2 separate regions of the Homo sapiens genome follow, and region 2 is linked to region 1. Evidence: promoter capture Hi-C in human tissues and cell types (Jung and others, 2019). All regions are on one chromosome and are shown on one strand. Each heading gives the region's core, a stretch centred on a gene start or on the middle of the fragment in contact. The rest is flanking DNA. Distances are from core to core; before and after follow the strand shown.

What was found. The method cuts DNA at HindIII sites, captures the fragments that hold promoters and counts their contacts. A contact is called where the count stands out against the background at its distance.
Region 2: a fragment that was not itself captured here is called in contact with the fragment with the promoter of NUP43 in region 1 in 1 of the 25 tissues and cell types used here (psoas muscle).

The regions. Positions count from the first base shown.
Region 1 is chr6:149,743,214-149,748,680 of GRCh38, reverse strand. NUP43 (nucleoporin 43) reads left to right here and starts at 2,152. Exons shown (of 8, transcript NM_198887.3): 1 at 2,152-2,305; 2 at 2,619-2,741; 3 at 4,966-5,043. The coding sequence starts at 2,186. RefSeq lists an enhancer at 1,783-1,842. The HindIII fragment of the contact is 10,037 bases long and covers 1-5,467 here.
Region 2 is chr6:149,603,246-149,608,712 of GRCh38, reverse strand. It overlaps KATNA1 (katanin catalytic subunit A1), which reads left to right. Exons shown (of 11, transcript NM_007044.4): 5 at 3,931-4,052; 6 at 5,340-5,445. Among named protein-coding and RNA genes, the nearest start is that of GINM1, 40 kb to the right of the region's middle. The HindIII fragment of the contact is 6,159 bases long and covers 1-5,103 here.

The DNA of each region.
Region 1 (5,467 bases), core at 903-3,402:
CCCGCCACCACGCCCGGCTAATTTTTTGTATTTTTAGTAGAGACAGGGTTTCACCGTGTTAGCCAGGATGGTCTCGATCTCCTGACCTTATGATCCGCCCGCCTCGGCCTCCCAAAGTGCTGGGATTACAGGCATGAGCCACAGCGCCCGGCCTCCAGTAATCTTTTAGAAGGAAACAAAGCTAAGACATCTGTGCCACTATATCAGCACAATTTTCAAATTCTAGTTCTTATCCGATTTTGTAAAATGTGACACTGGCCTGCTTCCAATCCAAAATCAACATTACCTATTTTCTGGGATTATGTGACCATAAATGAAACTACAGGCAAAACTGGTTTCTTTTTGTTTTTTTGCTTTTGATTGAGACGGAGTCTCACTCTGTAGCCCAGGCTGGAATGCAGTGGCATGATCTTGGCTCATTGCAACCTCCACCTCCCAGGTCCCGGTTCAAGCAATTCTGCCGCAGCCTCCCGAGTAGCTGGAATTACAGGCACGCACCACCATGCCCAGCTAATATTTTTGTATTTTTAGTAGAGACAGGGTTTCACCATGTTGACCAGGCTGGTCTTGAACTCCTGACCTCGTGATCTGCCTGCCTTGGCCTCCCAAAGTGCTGGGATTACAGGCGTGAGCCACCGTGCCTGGCCAAAACAGTGTTCTTTACTTCAATATTAAACATGAATAAAATTGTTGATTTGGGACTGTAACCCACTTAATATTTTCCATTTCATCTTTCTACAGTTTCTTGATGATCTTCCATTTGGAGAAAAGAAAAAAGTCAAATCCTTGATAGGAAACTGGTAACTCTAAAGCTGACCCAGATGGATTGCATTTACATGCAGTGCTTCCGTAAACTGTCCCTGTGAAGTAGGACTACCAATATCACATAAAAACAACAGTAGCATAATGGCCCTTTTTAAAGAAATAACCAACATACAGTTATGAATACCTATAGTGTAAAAGAGCTTCATTTTTTAGTTGAATAAGTCATATCTCTTGTATTCAGTAGGATTTACATTCTAATGGGGGAGGAATATGCATCTAAAGAAAACTAACATAAGATATATCCAAAATATATGTCATTAGTGGTCTAGATATCAAATGCTAGCTCACGCCTGTAATCCCAGCACTTTGGGAGGACAAGGCAGTTGGATCACCTGAGGTCAAGAGTTCGAGACCAGCCTGGCCAATATGGTGAAATCCCGTCTCTCCAAAAAAAAAAAAAAAAAATTAGCCAGGCATGGTGGCGCACACCTGTAGTCCCAGCTACCCTGGAAGCTGAGGTGGGAGAATCACTTGAACCTGGGAGGCGGAGGCAGAGGTTGCAGTGAGCTGAGATTGTACCACTGCACTCCAGCTTGGGCCACAGAGACCCTGTCTTAAAAAAGAAAAAAAATGGTGTTGATTTAGATCAACATTGGCTGGGGTCGTCAGGAAATGGTAAAGGAAAGAACAGATCCTTGAAGGATAGGCAGGATTCTGAGGAGTAAAGAGGAAGGGAAGAATATTATAGGTGTAACCAAAAGCACAGAAGGAACCTAGAAAACTGATTCCTGGGCCGTTGACAATAGGTATCACAAACTTCATTCTTAATCATGCACGTAATTGAATTGATCAAAGCTAGGCAATTGGCATCAAAACTAAAACTGGAGTCTTTCAGAATTCCAACTCCAGGCTCTGACAGTGTGTATTAACTTTGAAGCAAAGTATTTGTTTGGGAGACAAGAGGGAGAGGTTTGGGATAGTAGGTTGGCACTTTATTCGAGGTACTTCCACGAGTATTTAAGGATTTTTGAATCGTTTTCTATGCGCAGTGACCTGCAACTGCTTAGGTGTGGTTTCAAGGTGGTTTCTACTGCATTGTTTTTGTTCTGTTTTTGCACTTAAATTTTACACTGCACAATTATTGAACACAAGAAAATACTGACATTGCAGATTAGGAGCAAGTCCTACTGCTCAAAGGCCAAAGCGCTCTTGCCTTTGCTCAGAGCTGCTCTGTGAGATGGGTGGGCCTCTCAGTCTAGGTACTGACTGTGCCCACACTGGCTATCGACGAGAATTGACTCTCTGCAGCCACCGTCTCCGTCCTAAAGTCCCATCCAATCAGGGTTCCGCGGGAAGAGGCGGTGCTGAGAGGCGCGTACTGTGCTTGCTTTTTGCAGTACCTGCTGCGGCCGCTTTCGGCATGGAGGAAATTTATGCGAAGTTTGTGTCCCAGAAAATCAGCAAAACCCGCTGGCGACCGCTGCCTCCGGGAAGTTTACAGACCGCGGAGACGTTCGCTACAGGATCTTGGGACAATGAGGTATCGCCGCTGATAGGGACGAGCCCCTACCTCCTCCCTCTCTCCGGTTGAGCTGACCCCTGGCCTTCCGCGCGCCAACTCCCACCTTCTGGTTCTTCTCGCACTTTTAGGTCCCCCGGACCCCTGTCTCAGGCGCGGTTGCTCCGTAGCTCAGAGCCGGTGATGGCATGCCTGAGCCTCGTATCTCGTTGTGTTTTAAACTCACCATACCATTTGAGATGTTTTGGAGCAACATTTCCGGACGGGAGCACAACTTTTATTTTCCGAGAGTTGACGTTTATGTCATCTCAAGACAAAACTTTCTGTTTTACAGGAAAATTATATTTCACTGTGGTCTATTGGAGATTTTGGAAACTTGGACTCTGATGGAGGGTTTGAAGGAGACCATCAGTTATTGTGTGATATCAGACACCATGGTGATGTAATGGATTTACAGGTAAATCTGTGTAGCATCCAAAAGCTAACTTTGAAAGTCCTGAGTAATACATTTAAACAAGCAGAGCATCATAAAAGTTGTCTGGTGTCACCCCTCGTTTACAGAAAACTGAGTGCTCTGTAAGTTATGATTTGCCCAACATCATTTAGCCATTTAGTGGCAGAAAAAGGACTGGGAAAGGGGATGTAGATTTAATCATACTTTTTTATTAATTGACTGTCGACTATGTGCTAAATACCGTTTGGGGAGCTTTACAAAAATTAATTATTGTTGCATGCCAGTGAATCAAGTATCGTTACTTTGTTTTACTAATGAGAAAATTGAGACTAATATATCTTGAGCATGTACTATGTGACAGATACTGTGCAGGGGGATAACATCATTTTGTTTTTTGAATTCTCATAACAACTCCCTAAGTAGAGATTAGTGCTCCCGTTTTAAAGATTTACCACGATTTAGTGAACTTAACTTGGCCAAAGTCTCAAAACCAGTAATGAGTGGTGGGGATGAAATTGAGTTTTCTTTTTTTTTTTTTTTTCCAAGATGGAGTCTCGCTCTGTCACCCAGGCTGGAGTACAGTGGCATGATCTGAGCTCACTACAACCTCCGCTTCCCGGGTTCAAGCGATTCTCCTGCCTCAGCCTCCCGGGTAGCTGGGACTACAGGCGCAGGCCACCATACCCGGCTAATTTTTTGTATTTTTAATAGAGACGGGGTTTCACCATATTAGCCACGATGGTCTCTATTTCCTGACCTGGTGATTTGCCTGCCTCGGCCTCCCAAAGTGCTGGGATTACAGGAGTGAGCCATGGCGCCCGGCCGAAATTAAGTTTTCAAATCCTGGTGTGGAGAGCCCCTGCATTTTCCATAGAAAGCTACCTAGCCCTGGTGCGCGCTTGTAATCCCAGCTACTCTGGAGTCTGAGGCAGGAGAATCGCTTGAACCCGGGCGCAGAGGTTGCAGTGAGCCGAGAGTGCGCCAGCTTGGGCAACAAGAGCGAAACTCTGTCTCAAAAAATAATAATAATAAATAAATAAATAAATAAATAAATAAAATAAAAAAGAAAGCTATCTAGCTCTAGGAAAGATACATTTTTTTTTTTTGGAGACGAAGTCTTATACTGTCACCCGAGCTGGAGTGCAGTGGCGAGAGCTCAGCTTACTGCAACTTCTGCCTCCTGGGTTCAAGCAATTCTCCTGCCTCAGCCTCCCGAGTAGCTGGGACAACAGGCACATGCCACCATGCCTGGCTAATTTTTGTATTTTTAGTAGAGATGGAGTTTCACCATGTTGGCCAGGCTGGTCTTGAACTCGTGACCTCGTGGTCCACCCGGCTTGGCCTCCCAAAGTGCTGGGATTACAGGTGTGAGCCACCATGCCCAGACGATATTTTCCTTTCCTTTTTTTTTTTTCTTTTTTATGACGAGTCTTGCTCTGTCACCCAGGCTGGAGTGCAGTGGCTCGATCTCGGCTCACTGCAACCCCACCTCGTGGGTTCAAGTGATTCTTCTGCCTCAGCCTCCTGAGTAGCTGGGAGTACAGGCACATGCCAGCACGCCCAGCTAATTTTTGTATTTTTAGTAGAGATGAGGTTTCAACGTATTGGCCAGGCTGGTCTCGAACTCCTGACCTCGTGATCCGCTTGCCTCAGCCTCCCAAAGTGCTGGGATTACAGGCGTCAGCCACCGTGCCTGGCTTTTCTTTTTTAAAATTTTTATTCTTTTTTTGAAACTGAGTCTTGCTCTGTCAACTAGGCTGGAATGCAGGGGCTCAATCTTGGCTCACTGCAACCTCCACTTCCCTACAACCCCAACTCATTTTTGTATTTTTGTAGAGACGAGGCCTCGCCATCTTGCGCAGGCTGGTCTTGAACTCCTGAGCTCAAGTGATCCGTCCACCTAGGCCTCCCAAAATGCTGGGATTACAGGCGTGAGCCACTGCACCCAGCCAGGAATAATATTTTCCTAAGGTTTTATTGTGTTGGTCCCAAATTAAATCAATTGTGGGTGAATGTGTCTAGGAAAAAATATTGTTTATTCATGAAAATACTTTGTATGGCAGTTTGGCCTTTCAGCTTCATTAACACATTTTATTTCCTTAGCACTCATGGCTCTTTGCTTTTTAAAATTGTTATAAGATTTGCTACTAATTGAGTTAAATAAACAAATGGACTTCCTCCCTGCTAATATTTCTGAATCTTTAACAAGCAGAAATTTTCTCTTTAGTTTTTTGACCAGGAAAGAATTGTCGCTGCTTCATCAACAGGATGTGTAACAGTTTTCCTTCACCATCCAAATAACCAGGTAAAGAACTTTAGTTTGAGAAGTGATTTTTTTTTTTTTTGAAATGGAGTTTTGCTCTTGTTGCCCGCGCACTGGAGTGCAGTGGCGCAGTCTCGGCTCACCGCAGCCTCCACCTTCTGAGTTCAAGTGATTCTCCTGCCTCAGCCTCCCAAGTAGCTGGGATTACAGGCACGTGCCACCACGCCCGGCTAATTTTATATTTTTAGTAGAGACGGGGTTTCTCCATGTTGGTCAGGCTGATCTCACCTGACCTCAGGTGATCAGCCCTCTTCGGCCTCCCAAAGTGCTGGGATTACAGGTGTGAGCCACCGCGCCCAGCCAAAGGTAACCTTTTCTAATAGACATGCCTAGTTAATATAAGTCCCAGTTCATGTTAAGGGTTTTTTTGAGTCATTTAGAAAAAGCTATAGAGATTAATATTTTA
Region 2 (5,467 bases), core at 775-3,274, 140 kb after region 1:
CGGGGAGGGGTGGGGGAGAGAACATGCAGGGGCTCTTGTTCATTTCATTTTTGGGAATGAAAGTTTCAGCTTCTTATTTAGCCTCTGATTCTACCCTGGTGGGGGTTTGAGGTAACTCACTGTAGGCTTCCAGAAGTAGAAAGTCCTAGGCCTTCCACCCTGCCTTTGCTGCCCTGGGTGGGGCCGGGGCCACAAGTCTTTGGTGGTGCTTGACTGGAGTAGAGTGTTACTGTCTAAAAGCTCTGTCTTGCTAGACTGCCCCTTCCTTGGTCCTTTGCCTAGAAAGAGCAAGCTTCTGTTGGGGTGTTTTTGTTTGTTCAAATTGGCGTATCCAGGTTGCCGGCTCTTCAGCCCCAAGTTTGGATATTTGAAAGAAAGAAAACCCAGGGAACTCACACCATGTTTGAGTTCCTTAGTGGCTCTGCTGGCTTCTTTGCACCTTTCAGAGTCCTCCTGTGTTTGTGGTATGTATAATACCCAAGGGTTTTAGCTCTGTTTAGCAGAAGAAATGCTGAAAAGTATGCTCCATCTTCCTGGAAATGAGAACCCAGCTGTCATTTTTAATTAACTCTTTTAATTGAGGTAATGGGTTTTGTATTTATAATTTTGCCAGCTTTAAAAGAACTAGTTTTTGTTTTTGTTTTTTTGAGACGGAGTCTCACTCTGTCGCCCAGGCTGGAGTGCAGTGGCCTGATCTTGGCTTACTGCAGCTTCTGCCTCCCAGGTTCAAGCGATTCTCCTGCCTCAGCCTCCCGAGCAGCTGGGATTACAGGTGTGAACCATCACACCTGGCTAATTTTTGTATTGTTAGTAGAGACGGGGTTTCATCATGTTGGCCAGGCTGGTCTCGAACTACTGACCTAAGGTGATCTGCCTGCCTCTGCCTCCCAAAGTGCTGGGATTACAGGCGTGAGCCACTGAGCCCAGCAAAAGAACTAGTTTTAAACCCAAGGACTTATGTCCTGATTAATCCGTCTATCTGAAACTTTATTTTGAGCATGAAAAAAGGAGTCTAGGTCCCTTTGAATCCCTCAACTGTTTTTTTCCACTTCCTACTGGTTACTGTTTTCACTTAGAACAAGTTATTGTTTGTTTTTATTTGAGATGGAGTCTTGTTCTGTTGCCCAGGCTGGACTGCAGTAGTGCAATCTCAGCTCAGTGTAACCTCCGCCTCCTGGGTTCAAGCGATTCTCCTCTCAGCCTCTTGAGTAGCTGGGACTACAGGCATGTACCACTATGCCCAGCTAATATTTTTGTATTTTTAGTAGAGAGGGGGTTTCACCATGTTGGCCAGCCTGATCTCGAACTCCTGGCCTCAACTGATCCACCCCCCTCAGCCTAAGTGCTAGAATTATAGGCATGAGCCACTGCACCTGGCCAGGAGCAAATTATTAGATAGATGTATATCTAAAAGAAATTGTACTACTTCAACTAATTAAGTAAAATCCTATTAAATATGTCAGCATTTGAAGTTCCACAGCTTTCTTTGGCTGTCCTATTACAACACTGTTTCTTTCTTCTGCCTACTTAAATTTGTTTTGCTTTGTCTGCGAACATTCCCTTAGTACTGTGTTCTATGGGAGAAAAGAAAGAGAAAGAGAAAATGCCTTATATTTGTATCTTCCCTGGCTTACAGTATATGTTCCTGATAGTCAGGTACAGTGTCCTTTTCCTGTTCTCCATAGCTGCTAACACAGAACAGATACTTGTTAAATATCTGTAAATGAGTAACAACTTTATAAATACTTTGAAGAAAAGATTATCTTCTTCTCTTTTAAATGTTACACAGTTCTGGCTGGGTGTGGTGGCTCACCCCTGTAATCCCAGCACTTTGGGAGGCTGAGGTGGGCAAATCACCTGAGGTCAGGAGTTCAAGACCAGCCTAGCTGACATGGTGAAACCCCATCTCTACTAAAAATATAAAAAGTTAGCCAGGCATGGTGGTACATGTCTGTAATCCCAGCTACTCGGAAGGCTGAGGCAGGAGAATTGCTTGAACCGGGGAAGCAGAGGTTGCAGTGAGCCAAGATCGTGCCACTGCACTCCAGCCTGGGCAACAAGAATGAAACTCCATCTCAAAAAAAAAAAAAAAAAAAGTTACACAGTTCCTTCCTTGAATCTTTTATGCTAATATTGGAGGCTCAATACACACATTGTGGAACTGATGCTTATTTGGCCATCTAGGTTAACATTTTGAATATCATAAATATTGGTTAAGTCTGGACATTAATAATGGCATTAGACAGCACCAGTTGGCAAAGGAATCATCATGTTACGTGCAAAAAAAATGTTATGGGAATTGGGTAACAATCTTAGTACGGCAGAAAAAATGTTTATTTACCCTAATGCAGGGCTTCATAAATTTTCTTGGCCTATAATATTCATAAGTATCTTAGTAATTTTTATATAGCATCTCTAGGCCAGGATACCCATCCACTTATGAAAAATACCTATCCATTTATGAAGAAGTTAGGTTCAAACAGTTTATGTTCTAGCAGTTTAACACCTATTGGGCCCTGTTACACAGTTTCTCAAACCCTGCAGTCAGAACGGACATTCTACCCTCATTCCTCTTCCACATTGATTTTCTCTCTGTACATCTTATCACAGCAACTGCCCAAAACCCAGCTTCACAAAAATATGGTATTATTCAGGCCGGACACAGTGGCTCACACCTGTAATCCCAGCACTTTGGGAGGCCGAGGTGGGCGGATCACTTGAGGTCAGCAGTTCAAGACTAGCATGGCCAACGTGCTGAAACCCCATCTCCACTAAAAATAATTAGCCGGGCGTGGTGGTGCACACCTGTCATCCTACTCAGAAGGCTGAGACAGGAGAATTGCTTGAACCCAGGAGGTGGAGGTTGCAATGAGCCAAGATCACACTACTACACTCTAGCCTGGGCGACAGAGTGAGACTCTAGCTCAAAAATAAATAAATAAATAAATAAATAAAGCATTATTGAAGAGGAGTATAGCAGTCTTATGTAGGAATCGTGAACTACCTCTAGCTAGTAGTTCACACAGTGTTCAACAGATGTTGCTGTGTTTCTTTCAAAAATTTAAACTATCCCACAATACCTCGTGAGTTTGCCATTGTGTCCTGGGTATTGAGTACATAGTTTGGGAACCGTGGCCCTAATGACTGTCATCACAGAGGATGAGAGGAATCCCATGTAAGGACTGAGATGTGTCTTTTGGAGGGTAGTGGGAATAATGAAAAGGGATATTTTTAGGAGCATTGATGAGGGACAAGTAGGTGTTTAAAGATTGAGCCATAGTCTTGGCTAAATAAGCCATCTGTCTTTAATCTTATCTCCTCTAAAGGATTGAAATACATTTTGTGTATATCTGATATTCACTTGCGACCACATTTATCTCAGTATTAATTTTTTTATGCTAGCCAGTTCATTTGCATGGTCATTTTTATTTTTCTTTGATACTTTTGATGTATCAAACCAATGTTGATGTAGAAGGATGACTTAGAGTCTTTGGTCCTATCCTTGTTATTGTATTATTATTATTAGCCTTTTTTTTTTTTGAGTTGGTGTCTCGGTCTGTCACCCAGGCTGGAGTGCAGTAGCATGATCTTGGCTCACTGCAAGCTCTGCCTCCCGGGTTCACACTGTTCTCCTGCCTCAGCCTCCCGAGTAGCTGGGACTACAGGTGCCGCCACCATGCCTGGCTAATTTTTTGTATTTTTAGTAGAGATGGGGTTTCACCCTGTTAGCCAGGATGGTCTCGATTTCCTGACCTCGTGATCCACCCATCTTGGCCTCCCAAAGTGCTGGGATTACAGGTGTGAGCCACTGCGCCTGGCCAAATGATGTATTAGCTTTTTAAAGGACGTCACTTGAGTCCAATCTGTGTTTCCGACTCACAGAAACAAAATAAATGAATCAAAAGCGCTTGTTTTTTTCTCTTCATGTAGAACAAATCACCTGCTGCAGTAACAGAACCAGAGACAAATAAATTTGATAGTACCGGATATGATAAAGACTTAGTAGAAGCTTTGGAAAGAGATATAATTTCCCAGAATCCCAATGTTCGATGGTAAGTTATATCACAACCAAATAATTGGGTGCTGGTGATGCTATTCGGAATGGAAAATGGAGCAAATGTGAGCATGTACTGAAGAGCAGAGCTTGAGGACAGAACCGGAGTATGTGCAGCGTGAGCATGACTTCCCTGCATTCAGCCTATTCCAATTTTTGTCTGAGAGTCTGAGGTTTTTGTTTTTGTTTTTTAGAGACAGGGTCTCACTTTATTGCCCAGGCTGGAGGACAGTGGCTCGATCATAGCTCACTGCAGGCTCAAACTCCTAGACTCAAGTGATCCTCCTGCCACAGCTTTCCAAGTAGCTAGGACCACAGGTGCACACCACCACATCTAGCTAATTTTAAAAAATGTTTTGTAGAGATGGAGTCTTGATCAGGCTGGTCTTGAGCTCCTGGGTTCAAGTGATCCTCCTGCCTCAGCCTCCCAAAGTGCTAGGATTACAGTCATGAGCCTTTGCACCTGGCCAAGGCAATGATTTGTATGTATGTGTGTTGCTTATTATCTATAGCATCCTAGAAATGTTGCTTTTATTTTCTTTTAGAGCAGTGGTTCTCAACTTGATTAATATTACATGTAATCAAAGATCTGTAATGTATTACAATGAGTTATAAAAGTTAACTTTTCCACAAAGTTAGGTATTTTATATTTCTGTTAAAACCTTAATGATTATTAGGTATGGGTTTGAATGATATTAAAAAATATTGGGGACATTAATATTTTATACAATGAAAATACTTTTTTTAACAGAAATTGCCACATGTAGCAGTAGTAGTAGGTATTCTAGTGGTTGGAGATGACTTTATAGTAATCTCTGTGATACTCTTTAACCTTGGCATCTACCTCTTAGTAAAGCTGGAGGCAAAGCAGCTATGTTGTAGCCTGTCTCTGCTTTATACGATTTTTATTCTTTATGCTTTTTTTTAGTTTTAAAATACATGGGCTCATTGTTTCTAAATCATGGAGATTATGGAATGAGGACCATAAGAGCAGGAGTTTAAAATGAGTTGACACATAACCCTGAAGAGTGTGCCTGTAGACTATGTTCTCGTGATCCAGGCTAAAAACTGTCAACCGCCAATAACTGAAGAAAAGGTTGTGCTCTTTATATATCTGCTGGTTGACATGGTGGGCCTCATCACAGTGCATTAGTTCACCCGGGCTCAGAGAGAGGCTCACCATTCTGTCAGCAGTGCAACATCATGTGCTTCCAGTGGTTCTCAAGAGTGACTGCATAGACATGTATCATCTAAAGGGTTGTTAATAAAATGTCTTCTCTTTCAGGGATGATATCGCTGATTTAGTAGAAGCTAAAAAGTTGCTTAAGGAAGCCGTAGTGTTACCAATGTGGATGCCCGAATTCTTTAAGGGCATTAGGAGACCATGGAAAGTAAGTTTATTACTGTGATGGC